Linked DNA regions of Homo sapiens: region 1 is linked to region 2. The links are contacts of gene promoters, found by promoter capture Hi-C in human tissues and cell types (Jung and others, 2019). All regions are on one chromosome and are shown on one strand. The core of a region is centred on a gene start or on the middle of the fragment in contact, and the rest is flanking DNA. Distances in the headings are between cores, read along the strand shown. Region 1 has its middle 8.3 kb from the start of ARHGDIA. Region 2 holds the start of DCXR (dicarbonyl and L-xylulose reductase).

What was found. Contacts are between HindIII fragments. The study calls those that stand out against the background at their distance.
Region 1: a fragment that was not itself captured here is called in contact with the fragment with the promoter of DCXR in region 2 in 1 of the 25 tissues and cell types used here (spleen).

What each region holds. Positions count from the first base shown.
Region 1 is chr17:81,877,795-81,881,544 of GRCh38, forward strand. No RefSeq gene overlaps it. Among named protein-coding and RNA genes, the nearest start is that of ARHGDIA, 8.3 kb to the left of the region's middle. The HindIII fragment of the contact is 8,262 bases long and covers 1-3,750 here.
Region 2 is chr17:82,036,346-82,038,946 of GRCh38, forward strand. It overlaps DCXR (dicarbonyl and L-xylulose reductase), which reads right to left and starts at 1,352. Exons shown (of 8, transcript NM_016286.4): 1 at 1,286-1,352; 2 at 1,105-1,202; 3 at 514-668; 4 at 376-418; 5 at 199-298; 6 at 39-103. The coding sequence starts at 1,337. DCXR-DT (DCXR divergent transcript) reads left to right here and starts at 1,573. Exons shown (of 2, transcript NR_159948.1): 1 at 1,573-1,923. RefSeq lists a silencer at 743-1,572. The HindIII fragment of the contact is 8,854 bases long and covers 1-2,601 here.

The DNA.
Region 1 (3,750 bases), core at 614-3,113, 160 kb before region 2:
GTGCCACCCAGGCGTCCAGGAGCCAGTGTGTTTTGCTGACAATGTCCTGTGTTCTGGATTTGCTGGGCTGAACCCTCCAGGTGTCCTGTGAACCCTCTCCCATCCTCTGCACTTCTTAGGCAGGATGAGCCCAGTTCGAGTTTTAGAGGCGGTGCTGGGGGCCTCCTGCTGCTTCACGTCATTGGACTTGTCTTCTGGTCCTACCTGTAGTGAGGTATGGTTGGTTCTGGGAAGCTGGGCTGGTCCACCCATTATCAGTGGCCTCCTCAACTGTCATCTTCAATTTTCACTGTTTCTCACATGCATCATTTTATTGGACACTTCAAAGTGGTGATTTTCTAATTTTGGGTGTGTTTTTTTTTTTTTTTTTTGAGAGAGTCTTGCTCTTTTGCCCAGGCTGGAGTGCAGTGGCGCACTCTCGGCTCACTGCAACCTCCACCTCCTGAGTTCAAGTGATTCTCATGCCTCGGCCTCCCAAAGTGCTGGAGTTACAGGCATGAGCCACCGTGCCTGGCCTGATTTTCTAATTATTTCTGTATTTCTTAGCTGGAATTATTTCTTTTTTTTTTAAAGGACCCCGTCATCAATTGTTGCCCCAAAATTATAGAGTTCATACAGAAAAGACAAATTAAATGCCCGATTCTTTCCTTTTATTTGCCAATTTTTATGAGTCAGTGCCTTACAACTTCCAAAGGTAAACATGAGGCTTCTTTCCTTAAGCATCATCATGAACTCTTAGATGTTCATTTATTCAACACAAACTAAAAAAGGAATGTTAAGTCTTAAGATATCATTAATACTAACTTGCATTACTTGTTTATGAAGGATTAATATACTAAATAGAATATATGCTCACATTTTTATATGTAGATATTAATTTACAAGTAATTAACATGCTAAAACATTTTATAATTCGCTTCAATAACGTGTATAGATAACACAAAAATTAACTCTGGCCTACCTTAGGCTACATGATCACAGACAAGCTGATGTAATTAAAATGAGAAGATTTATTTCTTGGTACTTTCATGGCTTTATTTTTACATTAAAGTCTTTTATGATGTATTATTTATTGCTATCTTCCACCAAATGCTTGGCCAGTCAATCCCAGGGTGATCTTAATAATAACAACTAATACATGTAAACCATAAACATTTATGAAAATTATATATCCTCATATAAATTTCATAACATATGTAAGTTACAAAAGAAAGAAAAAGTCAACGAGGATATGGGGGAAGCCAAAAGGAATACAAACTAACAAATGAACCTAACTATGTACAAATTATGCAAATCACATAATTTGCAGGAGGTGGAAAGAAAGAAAAGAACTCATCTAGGCAACTTTTGAAACCAGTACTTAGATGCTACAGGTCAAACACAAAAACAACAGTACACGATTAAGGAAGTAAGGTGCCTCCATAGTGACTGCGCCTCCCTGGGGCACAGGTTGAACAGTTCACCTACAGCACTGACATGGCCTAAGCGAATGTCCTGTCAATCTGAGAGCCAGGTTTCTCCCTGTCACAGGAAGAAACTACACATAAGGAAAGGGGCAGGTGAGACAGGAACAGCAGGAACTAGACAGCTACAGAAACCAACAGGGCGGGTAAATGCACAAGCACGTGTCATAGATCCACTTCCCAGCTCTGTCCCAGGAGGGCCCAGAAGCAACAAGCACAGCCAGTGCCCAGGTCTTGGTTGCTAAATCCCAGTCTCCAGTGAGGGAGGGCTCCCTGGAGAAGCAGCTGGGTGCAGAGCTGGGACAAGGAAAACTGAAGACATCCCAAAATAAACAAGTGCTTAAATAAGGATAGGGCACAGGAGACAATCTCCAGGAGCTCCCAATGGCCAAAGCGTGGAAACAGTATCAGATTATGACTCACAGAATCCAACAAACAGCCCTTGCGTTCATACTGATATATAAAGAAAGAAATCGTAGGTCAGGCGCAGTGGCTCATGCCTTTTGGGAGGCCAAGGCGGGCGGATCACTTGAGCTCGAAAATTTGAGACCAGCCTGAGCAACATGGGTAAACCCCATCTCTACAAAAAATACAAAAAGTCAGCTGGGCATGGTGGTGAGCACCTGTGGTTCTGGTTACTCAGGAGGCTGAGATGGGAGATCACGTGAGCCCGGGAGGTCGAGGCTGCAGTGAGCCGTGATCGAGCCACTGCACTGCAGCCTGAGCCGCAGAGCAAGACCCTGTCTCAAAAAAAAAAAAGGGAAAAAAGCTGAAGGGACTGCTCTTTCTTAGAGATGAATTCCAATTAATAAACGTCAAAGGAATGAGGAAAATGCAAAAATCACCTTTGAAAACTAAGTTAATAATTACTGCATTGCAAGACCCACCAGTGGATGCTGAAATTAATTAGTGGGTAGGCCGGGCACGGTGGCTCACGCCTGTAATCCTAGCACCTTGGGAGGCTGAGGCAGGTGGACTGCCTGAGCTCAGGAGTTGGAGACCAGCCTGGGCAACACGGTGAAACCCCGTCTCTACTAAAAATAAAAAAAATTACCTGGGCATGGTGGCGCGTGCCTGTAATCCCAGCTACTTGGGAGGCTGAGACGGGGGAATTGCTTGAACCTGGGAGGCGGAGGTTGCAGTGAGCTGAGATGGCGCCATTGCACTACAGCCTCGGCAAAAGTGAGACTCCATCTCAAAAAAAAAAAAAAAAGTGGGTAAAACTTGGAAGTGAAACAGACATTCACTTAGTCTGGAAGTATCTCCCCAAGGTATTTATGGATGACAAAGGGAAAACAGTAACTATGTAGGGGAGAAGCCCCGGCAGCCGCTGCCACCACCTGAACTAACAGGACCAGGAGTTGGACAGACTGACATTGCATATCTCCACTATGCATTGAGAAGATGACATCCCAGCTGTGGTATTCATGCCAAAAAATAAAATAAACCAGCAGGGCGTGGTGGCTCAGGCCTGTAATCCCAGCACTTTTGGGAGGCCAAGGCGGATGGATCATGAGGTCAGGAGTTCAAGACCAGCCTGGCCAGCATGGTGAAACCTTGTCTCTAATAAAAATACAATAATTAGCCGGGTGTGGTGGCGGGTGCCTAAAATCCCAGCTACTCAGGAGGCTGAGGAAGGAGAATCGCTTGAACCTGGGAGGCAGAGATTGCAGTGAGCTGAGATCACACCACCGCACTCCAGCTTAGAAGACAGAGAAAGACTCCGTCTCAAAAAAAAAAAAAAAAACAAAAAACAAAACCTTGTCCAGTCATAAGGTCAGAGTCCCCAGTGTGAGGGACATTCTACAAAATAGCTGAGAGTACCCTTTAAAAGTGTCAAGGTCATAAAAGACAAAAGCTTCTATAAATCTGAATATAAAAATAACACTTCAGAAAATTCATAAATAGAGAAATAGGCTGACATTAATAGGCTATGTTCGGTGTGGTGGCTCAGGCCTGTAATTCCAACACTTTGGGAGACCAAGGCAGGAGGATCCCTGGAGCACAAGAGTTCAAGACCAACCTGGGCAACATAGTGAGACCCCATCTATACAAAGTTTTAAAAATCAGCCAGGCGCGGTGGTGGGTGTCTGTAGTCCCAGCTACTAAGGAGGCTGAGGTGGGAGATCCCTTGATCCCGGGAGTTCCAGGATGCAGTGAGCTGTGTTTGCGCCACTGCACTCTAGCCTGGACATCAGAGGGAGACCTTGTCTCAAAACACAATTTTTCAAAAATTTAGTTTTTTAAAAAAGATATTGAGATGCTACAATGTCCATTTCAGGAAGAA
Region 2 (2,601 bases), core at 102-2,601:
GTGTCCTAGGTTGGGGGAGGTACCCCAGCCCTGCTCACCTTGTGGGGCCCGAGCTCTAGGGCCATCACCTTGGTCAGCATGTCCAGGGCACCCTTGGTGGAGCCTACGAAGAGGAACCCAAGCTGGCTGGGGCTGGGGTCGGTGATGAGGGCGAGGCTGGGGCTGGGGTGGGGCTGAGGGCACAGCTGGGGCACTCACAGTAGACGCTATGGTTAGTTACTGCCCGCTGGGAGCACTGGCTGGAGACATTCACGATGGCCCCTGGGACTCCCCGGGCTATTAAGCCCCTGGCCACAATCTGGAATCGCAGCGAGACCGTGAGGCAGAGCTGGCATCACTCACGAGAATTCCCGTCCAGCCCACAGGGCAGCTCACCTGCGACACCTGGATGACCGCACGCAGGTTCACCTCAAAGGATCTAGAGGCCGAGGGACAGACCCTGGTCAGAGATTAGGGCTGCTGCGTCCTCCAGGACAGCCCCTCCCTGAGGTTCCTCCGCCCTCACAGGCTCACCTGTCAAAGGCCTCCTTGGTGACCTCCAGGAAGGGCTGCAGCAGGGCGACAGCGGCGTTGTTCACCAGCAGGTCCACGGGGCCCACGCTGCCCAGCGCCCGCTCGGTGGCCTCCCAGTCACCCAGGTCCACGCACACGGGTTCTATCCCCGGGCACTGTGTGTATCAGGGGGCAGTTACCAGAGGCTCTGTGCCCAGCAAGCGGCACAGCTGGGGACTGGGGCTGGTGACCTTTCAGCCGGACAAGTAAAGGAGTTAGGAGTTCCGAAGGTGTCGGGACTGTGGGGCCAGCAGCCGGGCGCTACCTCCGGCCGGTTCACTTCCTCCCTGCGCCCGAGCGACTCCTGCCCGGGGCCTGCTTCGCAGCCATTTCGGCCTCTTTCTGAGCCCGGGGGCCCCGGCGGCTCTGCCGACCACCCGGCCGCCCACGCAGGCCACCAGCCCCGAGAGAGGGTGCGCGGGCGCCCAGGCCGCGGTGAGAAGCGCAGCGCCCGCGAGGGGAGGCGGAGTCGCGCACAGAGGTACCGCCCCCGCTCGCTGCCGCCCCCTCCTGGCTCGCCGCCTCGCAGCGCTGGGACCCGGCGGGACCTACCTCGCGGACAAGGCTGTCAAGATCCGCCTGAGTCCGGCTCACAGCCACCACCCGCGCGCCCGTCGCGTGCAGCGCCTGGACCGTGCCGCGCCCTATACCTGCCGGGAGCGGGCTCAGTGAAGGCGTCCCCTGCCCGCCTCTGCCCGCCGCCGGCCTTTGCCCACCTTTCCCCGCCGCCCACCTTTGCCTGCCCCGGTGACCAGCACCCGGCGGCCCGCGAGGAACAGCTCCATGTCGGCGCAGTCTCCGCCCTCCGCACTGGGGCTGCGGAACTTGAAGCTCTGGCCACGATGGGCGGGGCGCGGCGGGGCCAATGGCAGGGCGGCCTTCAGATAGGCGGTGGGGACATTCAAATAGCTGCTCCCCGCTGCAGTGATTGGCCGAAAGGAGTGGGCGCGCCGGGGCGGGGCGGGGTCTCCGCTGCCTCAGGGACGGGTCTTTTGAAGTGCCTGGTGTGACCCATCTTCCGTGCTTGAAATCGACGTAGTGGACCCTGGCTAGCATATTTTTCCCTGCCAAGATTATTGCAAAAAGACGATGTGGTGGTTAATATCGGAAAGAATGTGTGGTTAATATCAGGAAGAACACGTGAAATGGAGAATTTCAGGGCTAACATTTCTTGTTTTGTTTCTGAAAACATCGGCATGTCCTAAAAAGTGTCGCCTGTGCCCATCATCTCTCAGGCTTGGGAGCAGGACACCGCCGGCTCACTTTAAAGCCAAGGGAAAGAATTTGGACAACCAACTACGTCTGGAGAAGACACCAATGTCAGCAGAGCTCCGCTTTCATCTGTGGGCGAAGGATTACCTAGATGCCAAGGCAAGAGACTGAAGACACAAACTGTTTCAGTATAACAAAGAAAATAGGCCGGGAGCGGTGGCTCACGCCTGTAATCCCAGCACTTTGGGAGGCCGAGGCGGGTGGATCACGAGGTCAGGAGATCGAGACCATCCTGGCTAACACGGTGAAACCCCATCTCTACTAAAAATACAAAAAATTAGCCGGGCGCGGTGGCGGGCACCTGTAGTCCCAGCTACTCAGGAGGCTGAGGCAGGAGAATGGCGCGAACCCAGGAGGCGGAGCTTGCAGTGAGCCGAGATTGCGCCACTGCACTCCAGCCTGGGCGACAGAGCAAGACTCCATCTTTAAAAAAAAAACAGTTAAAATAAAAATAGTCATAATACAAATTAGATATAAAAATGATCATGATCATGGATAATTATCAATCATTAGTATAAACATTATTAATCATTAGCTTTTAATATTACTCTTTGTTGCATTACTAATATAACCTAGGGACATTGTGAGAAGTGACCTAGAAGGCAAGAGGTGAGCCCTCTGTCACTCCCGCATAAGGGCTGCTTGAGGGCTCCTTGGTCAAGCAGTAATGCCGTTGTCTGGGAAGCCACCCGTTACTTAGAAGACTGCGAAGGGGAGTCTCCTTTCCTTGGAGGCGTCAGGGAACACTCTGCTCCACCAGCTTCTTGTGGGAGGCTG